Linked DNA regions of Homo sapiens: regions 2, 3 and 4 are each linked to region 1. Evidence: promoter capture Hi-C in 16 types of primary human blood cells and fetal thymus (Javierre and others, 2016). All regions are on one chromosome and are shown on one strand. Each heading gives the region's core, a stretch centred on a gene start or on the middle of the fragment in contact. The rest is flanking DNA. Distances are from core to core; before and after follow the strand shown. Region 1 holds the start of CEP162 (centrosomal protein 162). Region 2 overlaps ME1 (malic enzyme 1). Region 3 overlaps DOP1A (DOP1 leucine zipper like protein A). Region 4 has its middle 83 kb from the start of LINC02535.

Evidence for each region. Contacts are between HindIII fragments. The CHiCAGO score rates a contact against its expected background, and 5 or more counts as called.
Region 2: a contact is called between a fragment that was not itself captured here and the fragment with the promoter of CEP162 in region 1, in 6 of 17 cell types (total B cells, naive CD8 T cells, total CD8 T cells and 3 more). The highest score is 8.9, in total B cells.
Region 3: a contact is called between a fragment that was not itself captured here and the fragment with the promoter of CEP162 in region 1, in 1 of 17 cell types (total CD4 T cells). The highest score is 6.6, in total CD4 T cells.
Region 4: a fragment that was not itself captured here is called in contact with the fragment with the promoter of CEP162 in region 1 in 4 of 17 cell types (naive CD8 T cells, endothelial precursors, erythroblasts and 1 more); the score reaches 8.4 in naive CD8 T cells.

What each region holds. Positions count from the first base shown.
Region 1 is chr6:84,226,238-84,228,937 of GRCh38, reverse strand. CEP162 (centrosomal protein 162) reads left to right here and starts at 1,295. Exons shown (of 27, transcript NM_014895.4): 1 at 1,295-1,358; 2 at 2,486-2,601. The coding sequence starts at 2,545. RefSeq lists enhancers at 820-979, 881-1,381, 1,382-1,882. The HindIII fragment of the contact is 5,497 bases long and covers 1-1,558 here.
Region 2 is chr6:83,209,992-83,212,691 of GRCh38, reverse strand. It overlaps ME1 (malic enzyme 1), which reads left to right. Exons shown (of 14, transcript NM_002395.6): 14 at 598-2,290. The coding sequence ends at 768. Among named protein-coding and RNA genes, the nearest start is that of RWDD2A, 18 kb to the right of the region's middle. The HindIII fragment of the contact is 3,037 bases long and covers 1-2,700 here.
Region 3 is chr6:83,081,355-83,084,054 of GRCh38, reverse strand. All of the region lies in intron 1 of DOP1A (DOP1 leucine zipper like protein A), which reads right to left. Among named protein-coding and RNA genes, the nearest start is that of DOP1A, 15 kb to the right of the region's middle. The HindIII fragment of the contact is 2,091 bases long and covers 257-2,347 here.
Region 4 is chr6:85,320,612-85,323,311 of GRCh38, reverse strand. No RefSeq gene overlaps it. Among named protein-coding and RNA genes, the nearest start is that of LINC02535, 83 kb to the left of the region's middle. The HindIII fragment of the contact is 3,121 bases long and covers 1-2,700 here.

The sequences.
Region 1 (2,700 bases), core at 46-2,545:
GGAGACAAGTGTATCAAATAGTATTGGGAGATCAAATAAAGCGCTGTCATATATGTACACTTACACACACAGAGACAGGATTAAAAGGTCTGACAAAAGGGAGGTAAAGTGGAAATAATTCCTCAGAAAAGATTGGCAAGTAAGGTGAGGAGACAGATCATTTCAACCACTGGGAAATAATAGCATGAAGAGAATGTGTCAGAAGTGATGTTTTAGGTGGGGATCTCAAGGCATGTTCAAATGCTGTTAGGAAAAATCCCACAGCCAGCCAGAAGTCGAAGATACAGGATTAAGGGAAATGACCAGTGGAACAAGATCAGTGAGAAGAAGAATGGGTAAAGGCTCTAGATCATATGTGGGAAGGTAAGTCTTTGATAGAAGGTGGCAGGAAGTCAACTTCTCAATAAATGGTAGCTTAAGATATTTCTTTTATTATTCATATTTGCATCATAGTCCACAGCTCCTGGTTTGTACATATTTGTATTGCAAGAAAGACTTGATGAATAAACAGTTCTAGCTAAAGATGAGGTCCTGAACTAAGTCTACCATCAGCAAAACCTGCAGCTGTTGTAGATTTTACTTACACTATGCTAAATGTTGTCCTCTGAAACTCCAGCTAATGTTGCATGCTTTGAAAAAAAGAAAAGAAATAGAAAACAAAATCCAAGTCAGTAATTGTGAAATGCCAGTAAAGAATGCAGTTTTGAAAAGTAGGGGTAGCGGGAGGAGCAATAACTTAATAAGAATCTTGCTGTTTGCGTATTTTCGATTTCTTGCCCACTAGGTGGTGGAACAGAGTCCCCATCTAAACGACAGTTTTTTTCCTCACAGGTTTGTGTTTCTCTCACAATGCCTACACAGGTCTTTGCAGGCCAAAGAAATCCAAGAAATTCAATCTCTTCAAAATTGCCCCTTGGAAAAACAGAGCGCTCGAATGACAAGTGTGGGGAAGGCGGGAGGCGACGATGCGGAGTGCGGAAACACAAGGACCAGGGGAGCTAAACTACATTTCCCAGAAAGCCACGGGCTGGCCTACAACCACCGCGCCCTCCAAGCCTGCTGGAAGCCTCCGTCTCGCTTCTCCAGTAACCGGTTTGCCGCTGTCCCCTTTTCTAAGGAACGTAGAGAAAGCCAGGGAAGGAAAGGCATTTTACTGCAGCAGCGAAGGTTTAGCCACTAGAGTGTCTTTCTCAGCCGTGGTTATTCCGACCTTCGCTTGTAAAGGCATTGGGAAACCCACGGCCCACGTGACCAGCCCGGGTCATGTGACTCCAGAACCCGGCAGCTGAAGTCTGTTACCCTGACAACTGGTGGACCCGCACAGACCTTCCGGGAAAGCGCGGAATTCAGAGGCAGAGGTAGGTGGTAAGGTGTGAACGCTGGTTTCCCACCCAAATCGCCCTGGTCGAGGCCGTGCTTCATACTCGAGCGAAGGGCTTTAATTTTCCAGGTCATTCCCCTTCTCCGCCCGGAGCCCACGGCAAATGCGTCTTTGTCTTCCCTCCAATTCCCGAACCCGCGCTTCTGGGGACGGGGTCGCAGCCAGGCTTGAGAAGCTTTTAGTGGAGCTCACCCCTGACCAAGCTATTCAGGCCAAGACCTTAACCGCACTTACCCTGAACTGATCGAAAGTGCAAATGAGGGGAAGAGGTGTTACTCTGCACGATGGGGAGGGTATTGTCCGGGTCTGCAAGCCCTCTTCCCCTCCCCCATCTCTACAGAAGAAAGCTGGGATTTGAGCTGCTCTAGGGAGTTCAGGAGCTGGGGGTCGACCCAAGGTTGGGTTCATTAGGTGTCTAGGGGAACGCTTTCCGTTGCAAATCACTGGATTCTGCTTGTGTTCAGCACATAATTTTTGTCGGTCTTCCCTCGCTTCAAAAGAAACATAGTACTGATTTGTGTACTCCATTAACTTTAAGTATTCTTTAAGTATTTTGACTAAATTACTAATTCTTACTAAATTCTATTTGTGTATATTTTGAAACATCCCCGTATCTGGATACAGTCTGCTTTACGAAACTATGCAGTCTGCTTTACGAAACTATTACTATGGATTGGTAAAATAACGAGCCGAGTGATAAGGCAGCACAAACTGTCGTGTGCTTTGCAAGAAAGAAACAGTCCTTTGGATTTGCTAACTTACAGTTTTTAAGATTCCCTGTGAGGACCTGGTTTGTGTTTGAGAGGTACTAATTAACACATGCACACAAACATAGGTTTGGGAAATATTGTAGAGACCACTCTTTAACAATTGGATGTTAACAGATGAAAACATAATTCTGAACGTTGAGTACAAGACATCCTGTCAAAGCTGCTTTTCCAAATCAGTTTGCTTAATGAATTAGGAATCTCTTGACCAGCTCTTACTGGTTAAAAAAAATTGTGCATATATACTGAATCATAACAAATGTCCGAAGTTTAAGTCTGGTCGTGTTCATGATCTGATGGATTTCCTCAAAAGATGTTTATGTCTCTTGTCATTTAGTGTTTCCAATGTTTGAGGTACTTTAGAATGTTTACTTTGGGAGGTCAAAATTGTTGACTATGGCTAACTGTTCCCAAGAAGAGCTAGATGAAGAGTTTGAACAGTTTATGAAAGAGGTAAGTTTATATTTTTAAAAGCTATATTGTCAAATTTGTCTCAAAAGACTCATCCTTCAATTCTGTCATCTCGAAGATACAGTTAGTCCATCACCAAAC
Region 2 (2,700 bases), core at 147-2,646, 1.0 Mb after region 1:
ATCGTTCTAGGATGCACAGCCACAAAAGGAGAAAGCCAGCTCTGAGGGGTCCCCAGACGAGGGACTAGAATTATGCATGAAACACAGGGCGTGATGACCAGAGAATCTGTGACGCTGGCAAAGAGTGCTCATCCTGACTGTGGTGTCTAGATGATTAGCTGAGCAAGATCAGGAGACCCTGGGGTACAGGAAGAGATTTTGTAGGAGGCTGTGGTGAGAATAGGGATTCTTGAAAATTCAAGGTTCAAGTTTAGCAGGACTATTTAGGTATTTATTTCAAGTTAATTGTCAGTCAGGTCATGTCAAGACTTTGAACACTGGCTTCTCTGAGAAATCCAGATGTGATAGTACTTGAATCAGTCTCACCTGGTCACACTTTCCTTAGTTGCTGATGTCATTTTTCTCTCTCACTATATGATTTATAATTGCATTTTCATTTTATATCTTCATTGCTTATATGTGCTTTTATTATAATACACTTAATGTTTTTGCAAACATAGGATACAGTGTTTTTGAAATGGATAAAAACTTCCACTCACATGGGCTCATGATTACCTCTATTTATTAAAATAATTAATATTCTTTTCTTATATCTAGATTGTGAAAGATGCATACCAAGAAAAGACAGCCACAGTTTATCCTGAACCGCAAAACAAAGAAGCATTTGTCCGCTCCCAGATGTATAGTACTGATTATGACCAGATTCTACCTGATTGTTATTCTTGGCCTGAAGAGGTGCAGAAAATACAGACCAAAGTTGACCAGTAGGATAATAGCAAACATTTCTAACTCTATTAATGAGGTCTTTAAACCTTTCATAATTTTTAAAGGTTGGAATCTTTTATAATGATTCATAAGACACTTAGATTAAGATTTTACTTTAACAGTCTAAAAATTGATAGAAGAATATCGATATAAATTGGGATAAACATCACATGAGACAATTTTGCTTCACTTTGCCTTCTGGTTATTTATGGTTTCTGTCTGAATTATTCTGCCTACGTTCTCTTTAAAAGCTGTTGTACGTACTACGGAGAAACTCATCATTTTTATACAGGACACTAATGGGAAGACCAAAATTACTAATAAATTGACATAACCAACATTAAAACTCATAATTATTTTGTTGACCATTTTGTTAAAATCTACTTTTCAAAAAAAAAAAGCTAGAAATGAATCTAGGCGTAGGTGAACTTTTGCTAAGCAGAAATAACACTACTTTGTTGCCTAGAGAAAGATAACTTCTCAAGTATTTTTATTCCAGTCCTAGATCATATATGTTCTTTTGTGCAACGGAATTCTAACAGTTCTAAGAGAAAGATCACTGCTGTTTACAGCGCCTTGTGCAGCCTTAGATTTTAATATTCTTTTGTCATTGTTACATCTCATAGAGTAAAGCTCTTATTACCTTGATCCTGAGTCAGAAATCCCACCTGAAATCACCTTTTTTCCCCCTTGATCAAACATCCCATCCTTCAGCTACCATACTGTTGCTACAGGGATTTTGTGGACTGTGGCCCCTGTCCCGAGGTTGGCACCTTCAGTTCAGCACAGCCTGAGCAGTGAGAAGGTCTGAAAGGAGAGTATATAGTTAAGATCCTTGAGAAAGGGCTGCCTGAGGAACTGACCTCTTAAAGATCTCAGGATCTTTAAGACAACAAGTTAGGTTCCTACTGGAGTTACCTGCCAGAATGGCCTCTTAATTAACTCAGGTAATGAAGAGCTAACTGTGTTATAATCATCTTGCTTTTGCCTGAATTTGGAGAAAGTATTATAATTAAGTTCCCAGTATCAGAAATGTCCTTACATAAGATTAAAATATCTTGATGACTAATACCATTCTATGAGAAAGAGTAGTTATATGCCCAGACTGTATTAATTTACTTTAGAAACTAATGTTTGAAGTAATGGAAAAAATTTTAAATTATAAAGCTAAGGTGCAATAACATTTGCTACTTATTTATAGAATTATTTGAAGAATTTTGTTTTTGAAGTAATGCTTTAAGGAGTATAAGATATTCAAGATAAATTATACTATAAAATGATTTTATTGAAAGTTGAAGGTTACACAAATTGTTTTAGGTATGAGCAGAAGAGGTTAAGGTATTTCTAAAGGTAACATATAGTCAAGAGTTTCCTCAAAATAGTTATTTGGAGAAGAATCAGAATGTCTGTGTATTTCTTGTCTGTTTCTATGTTGTCTTATAGCTCTGACTAAATGTGTTTACCTATGCAAAAGATTTATTAAAGCATAGAAAAGGTGAATGAATAAAAATATAAAATAATTGTCCTTTTTCTTAAAATGTTACATTGTAATGCTTGGTCTTGGGGTCATATGATTATGTGTGACGAATTTCTAAAATATTCTAATAACTGCTAATTTCAGTATAAACATCATTCATTTAAAACATATGTGGCTGGGCACAGTGGCTCACGCCTGTAATCCTGGCACTTTGGGAGGCTGAGACAGGCAGATCACCTGAGGTCAGGAGTTCAAGACTAGCCTGGCCAACCTGGTGAAACCCTATCTCTACTAAAAACTATAAAAATTAGCTGGGCTTGGTGGCTCATGCCTGTAATCCCAGCTACTTGGGAGGCTGAGGCACGAGAATCGCTTGCACTGGACGTTGCAGTGAACCAAGATCATGCCACTGCACTCCAGCCTGGGGGATGGAGTAAGACTCTGTCTCAGAAAAAAAA
Region 3 (2,700 bases), core at 53-2,552, 1.1 Mb after region 1:
AGATCTGCCAAGGTGACAGTGAAGCTGATTTAACTTTACGATTTCTTTTTTTACCAAGTAAATATACACAAAATTATATACGTTATTAAAAATTGTCTCTGAATGCTATAAAATCAGATTCTTTCTCATTTCAAATTCTGTGATTTCTGGTACACATAGCAATATGAAAATATTAATTTTAGAAAATACAAAACATAAGCACCATTTATAACTTGGAATGAGCCATTAGCAGGTAGGTGGGATTCTACTTTAAGCTTCAAATGGCAAACAGCCATAATAATAAACACTTAAGCACATACCCTTGAGTTACAAAGGATCATCCTGTCTCCAAAGCATAGTAGCCAAATAAACATTGTCCACGTATTACTCAAGATGATGATAATAATCACAGTTGATACTGACTTACAAATTACTCTGTGCCAGGCACTATACTAAGCCCTTTCATGTGAATTATCTCATGTATCTTCACAATACATCCATGAGGTAGATATACACATGAATCCATGTTCATATAAGGCAATTAGTGTTCAAGGTGCCACAGAGAATAAAAGGAAGAACCAGGAAGAACTCTGGCAGACTGACTCCTGGAATTGGCCCTTAATCAGTATCTTTCTGAACTTTTTTTTTTTTTTTTAAACCACAAGTCTTAATTCTCCTGCATGACATATTCTACCTCTCCTCTCTCATTAACTTTTTTCAAAAAACTTTTCCGGCTATATAGATTTCTTTCTTAGAAATTGTACTTAAAAAAAAACTATAATAATGTAAATACATATGTTATTCTTCCTAGACCTTGAATGAAGCACAGGGACCAAAGCTCAACTCAAAATACCCCAAGTGGTTCACCACTCAATACTGATAGTGTTTAAAATATAAGGCAAAAATGATCATGATTCTGATACAGAAGTTTTTATTTTTGGTTGTTATCTATAAAAGAGTGGGTTTTTGGCCAGGCATGGTGGCTCATGCCTGTAATCCCAGCACTTCAGGAGGCTGAGGCGGGTGGATCACCTGAGGTCAGGAGTTTGAGACCAGCCTGGCCAACATGGTGAAATCCCATCTCTAATAAAAATACAAAAATTAGCTGGGCGTGGTGGCAGGCACCTGTAATCCCAGCTACTTGGGAGGCTGAGGCAGAAGAATTGCTTGAACCCAGGAGGCAGAGGGTGCAGTGAGTGGAGACCGCACCACTGCACTCCAGCCTGGGTGACAGAGCAAAACTCGGTCTCAAAAAAAAAAAAAAAGTGGGTTTAAAAAAGAGACATGTAGCTTATTTCAAATTGACAGATAAAATTGTATTATGTACAATATAATGTTTTGAAGTATATACACACTGTGTAATGGTTAAATGTAGCTAATTAACAAATGCATTGCCTCAAATAGTTGTCATTTTTGTGGTAAGAACACTTACTACTCTTTGTATTTTTCAAGAACATATCATCATTAACCATAGCCACTATGCTGTACAACAGATTCCTTGAACTTACTCCTCCTAACTATATATCCTTTGACTAACATTCTTCCATCCTGTCATTTCCTCAAACCACCCCAGCCGCTGGTAAGCACCATTCTATTCTCTACTTCTATGGGATATACTTTTTAGGTTTTACATATTGGGTGAGATCATGCAGCATTTATCTTTCTGTGCTTTGCTTATTTCACTTAACACAGTGTCCTCTAGGTTCATCCATGTTATTGCAAAGAACAGAATTTTGCTTTTTGATAGGTGAATAGCATTCCATCATGTATATAAACCATATTTTCTTTGCCCCTTCATCTGCTGATAGACCCCTAGGCTGATTCCATATCTTGGCTATGTGAATACTGCTGTTTATGTGCACTTCTCTCTTTGACATACTGATTTCATTTTCTTTGGATATATACTCAGTAGTGGGATTACAGAATCATATGGTAGTTCTATTTTTTTCATTTTTTGAGGCCCCTCCTTACTGTTTTCCATAATGGCTATACTAATTTACATTCCCACCAACAGTGTGTTCCCTTTTCTCCACATCCTCTCTAACACTTACCTTTTGTCTTTTTGATAACAGCAATTCTAACAGGAGTGAGATGATATCTCATTTTAGTTTTGATTTGCAGTTACCTGATGATTAGTGACGTTGAGCCTTTTTTCATATACCTGTTGGCCATTTATGTCTTCCTTTAGGAAATGTCTACTCAGGTCTTTTGCATATTTTAAAATCAAGTTGTTTACTTGCTATTGAGTTCCTTATATATTTTAGATATTAACCCCTTATCAGATGTATGGTGTGCAGATATTTTCTCCCATCCTGTAAGTAGGTTGTCTCTTTACTCTGCTAATTGTTTCCTTTGCTGTGCAGAAGCTTTTTAATTTCATATAACCCCATTTGTCTATTTTTGCTTTTGTTGCCTGTGCTTTTAAGATCATAGATACAAAATCATGGTGCAGATCAATGTCACATAGCTTTTCTTGTTTCTCCTAGTAGTTTCATAGTTTCAGGTCCTATTTTTTTTTATAACCCAAGATGATTTTTGTATATGGTGAGAGATAAGGGTCTAATTTTGTTCTGCAGTTTATCCAGTTTTCCCAACACGATTTACTGAAGAGAATGTCCTTGCCCCACTGTGTATTACTGTTGCCTTTGTCAAAAACCAGTTGGTTGTAGGGCTGGGCATGGTGGCTCACACCTGTAAACCCAGCACTTTGGGAGGTTGAGG
Region 4 (2,700 bases), core at 180-2,679, 1.1 Mb before region 1:
GGTCATCTGAGCTATTAGGAGTCGTAGGAGCTTGGCTAAGACTTCTCAGTGAATGTAGAAACACTGAGAAGGGAGGTCAAAAGATGATTATGATCGGGGGGTGGGGCTTTTGAGAATTATTATACTAAATGTGAAAATCTGATTTTAGCTCAGGCGAGGCCTTCAGAGAAAGCATTTAGCCAGCAGGAAGTTAAAGGGTAGCATGTGTCTTTATCTGTAGGGACATAGCTGGTTTATCCAGTTCTCTGGGATACAGTCCTTGATTTGAGGGGTCTGGGGTTTTGAAAATTGGCACCACCTGAGGAGTATGACCCTGTGCATTCCCATTCTTCAGCTGGATTTTGGGCTTCTCTCAGGGTTTTGCCTCTGACTGCAGTGGATGGTCACACCAGTAACTGCAGGCTCCACTCCATACAGCTCAAGGCCTGTCTGCTTCTGTTGCTGAAACTGAAAAAGCTGATCAACAGGGCCTCAGCTCCTTACAGTGGGGTGATGGCCCTTCCCACATCTCCAGGAGGGTCTGTCTGCTGAAGGCTGGAGGGGAGCATCCAAGCTGCCTTGATTGGTACTACAGATAACCCTCCCTAAGTCTCTCTCAGGCAATGGGGGAGTGCACAAGACATTGTCTGGGAAATGGAGAAAAAGCGTTTTCCAGGAGCCAGTCTGGAGCCAGGAATGATATGAGAGTCAAGGAAAGTAGACAGTCCTCTCCAATGCTCATTGAGGATTCTTCATTCCTGACTTAGGTTTCTGGCCACACGCATTTCCTGGGAAACATCATTCTTAGTACCTGTTTCTTTAGTGCAGGGCTATTTCTAATGCTTCAAATTCTTTCATATTAATGAAGGAAAAAAGTTTACTCCTCTGCTATTTTAAGCCAACAGAGTAGGAATTCTGGTAGAGGTTGGTGCTGCAAATTTTGAGGCTTGATCAGAAGTTTGAGTTGGGGTAGCCAAATAATGATCAATTTACTATGTTAAACAAAAGGCAAATATTTTATATCAAGCATCACTTGCAGCCTCCCTAATAAAAGATCTATGAATCTTTTTTCCTTGCAAAGAATGAAACACTCCAAAACTCCTGAGTGTTTAGGAATTTGCCTTTCCTCTCACTAGCTGCTCAGCAGCTGAAGCACTGCCAATGGTTGCATGGGGAACAACAGGAGGGGCTTGGGCTGCCTGACAGCCACACCTGTGCCTTGGCTTCAATAGACTAGAACAGGCCTCAGCTGGCTTAGGGGCCAGAACTTGGCAATGCAACACATGTGAGCTGTGGGCAGATGTTGAGTATTAAAGAGTAGAGAAAAGGGGATGATTCTGAGGAGCTGGAGTGGGATTGATTAATGGAGGTGGGGCCGACGCAAATTCAACAATCCCAGCAGACCACTGGCAGGAGAGCTGGTGTTTTAACACTTTTTGTAGGACTTCGTGGAGGTCTTTAGAAACAGGGTAAGTCCCCATGTGTCTGGAGGGTTAGTGGGAGATCTTCCCATAGGCGTGGGTGTGGATTCGATGAACCTTCAAAGTCTTTTCAACATTCTGATTCTGTGGTCAGGATTAGACAGACTCATGTGGCCACAAATGAAATAAAATAGGGATCTAATGGAATGTTTTATGTTCTGCATCTTTAGTTCCAAATGGGAGATAGTCTGTTGAGTGCTGCAAGATTGATCCTGTCCTGTTTCTACTTCAAAAGCTGATTAGAATTGATTCTCTTCATCTTGGCCTTAACATTCTACTTTAAATAAACGTAGAAACGTATTCTGAATCTCTCTGAAAAACCCAAAGCAAAGGACCTGAGAGAATGTACCATTCTAGGGTATTGCAAATGTACTTACTTGAATCCATTTATTTAATGCCTCCTGGCACCCAATTCCACCAAGGTAGTTTGGTTTTTCTGTTAACATTAAAAATTCACCCCAAAAGAACTAACAAACCCAAAATCCAAGTGTCTTACAGAAACTGTCTTTTTCTTTGTAGGTGCTTCTTGCTTGAAACAAGAGGATCTTGTGGCTTGATAAAATGTTTGGAATACCCAAGGAGGGCCTCCTTTTGAAGGCTTATGCAGTGCAGCCTCTCTCAAGATCTCAGTTTACTCAGAGAAGAAAGGTGAACTGCATTTGTTCCAAGTAAAATATACATCTGTATTATTCACCATCACACCCCTATTCCATTACAAACAAATACTGACCTTGTTCTTCTGATGTGAAGCCAGAGGGAGTGTGAAATATAGCAAGGAGAACAGTCTGATGCAGAAATATGAAAGTTCCAAGCAACAGAAACGCGGTATTTAAAAGGAGTAGAGAAGGGCCCCAACTTGGTCTTTCTAATTCCTTCTCTGCAGCTGACCCTGGGGAAAGTAACTCAATAGTTATCAGTCGCTTTGGGGAAACTGCCTACATTAGTTCAGATTGCCAGTTGGATTTTTTCACTCTAGGATCTATGTGTTGGTAGTCTCTCTGTTTTTTCTTTTGGCCTTAAGAACTTCTCTTGAGAACGCTCTGTGTGTGTGTGTGTGTGTGTGTGTGTGTGTGTACATGAACTTTTGACCTAAGTACTAGAAACCAGTTTCCATTTGGATGCCAAGCACGTTTCCTCCTTTTAGCAGGGCTGGGAGCTACCGCTTTGTGATTTCTCTCATCACGATGTTCTAGGAAAAGGCTTTTGAATGGTGGAGAAACTCAGCTAACATTACATTAGA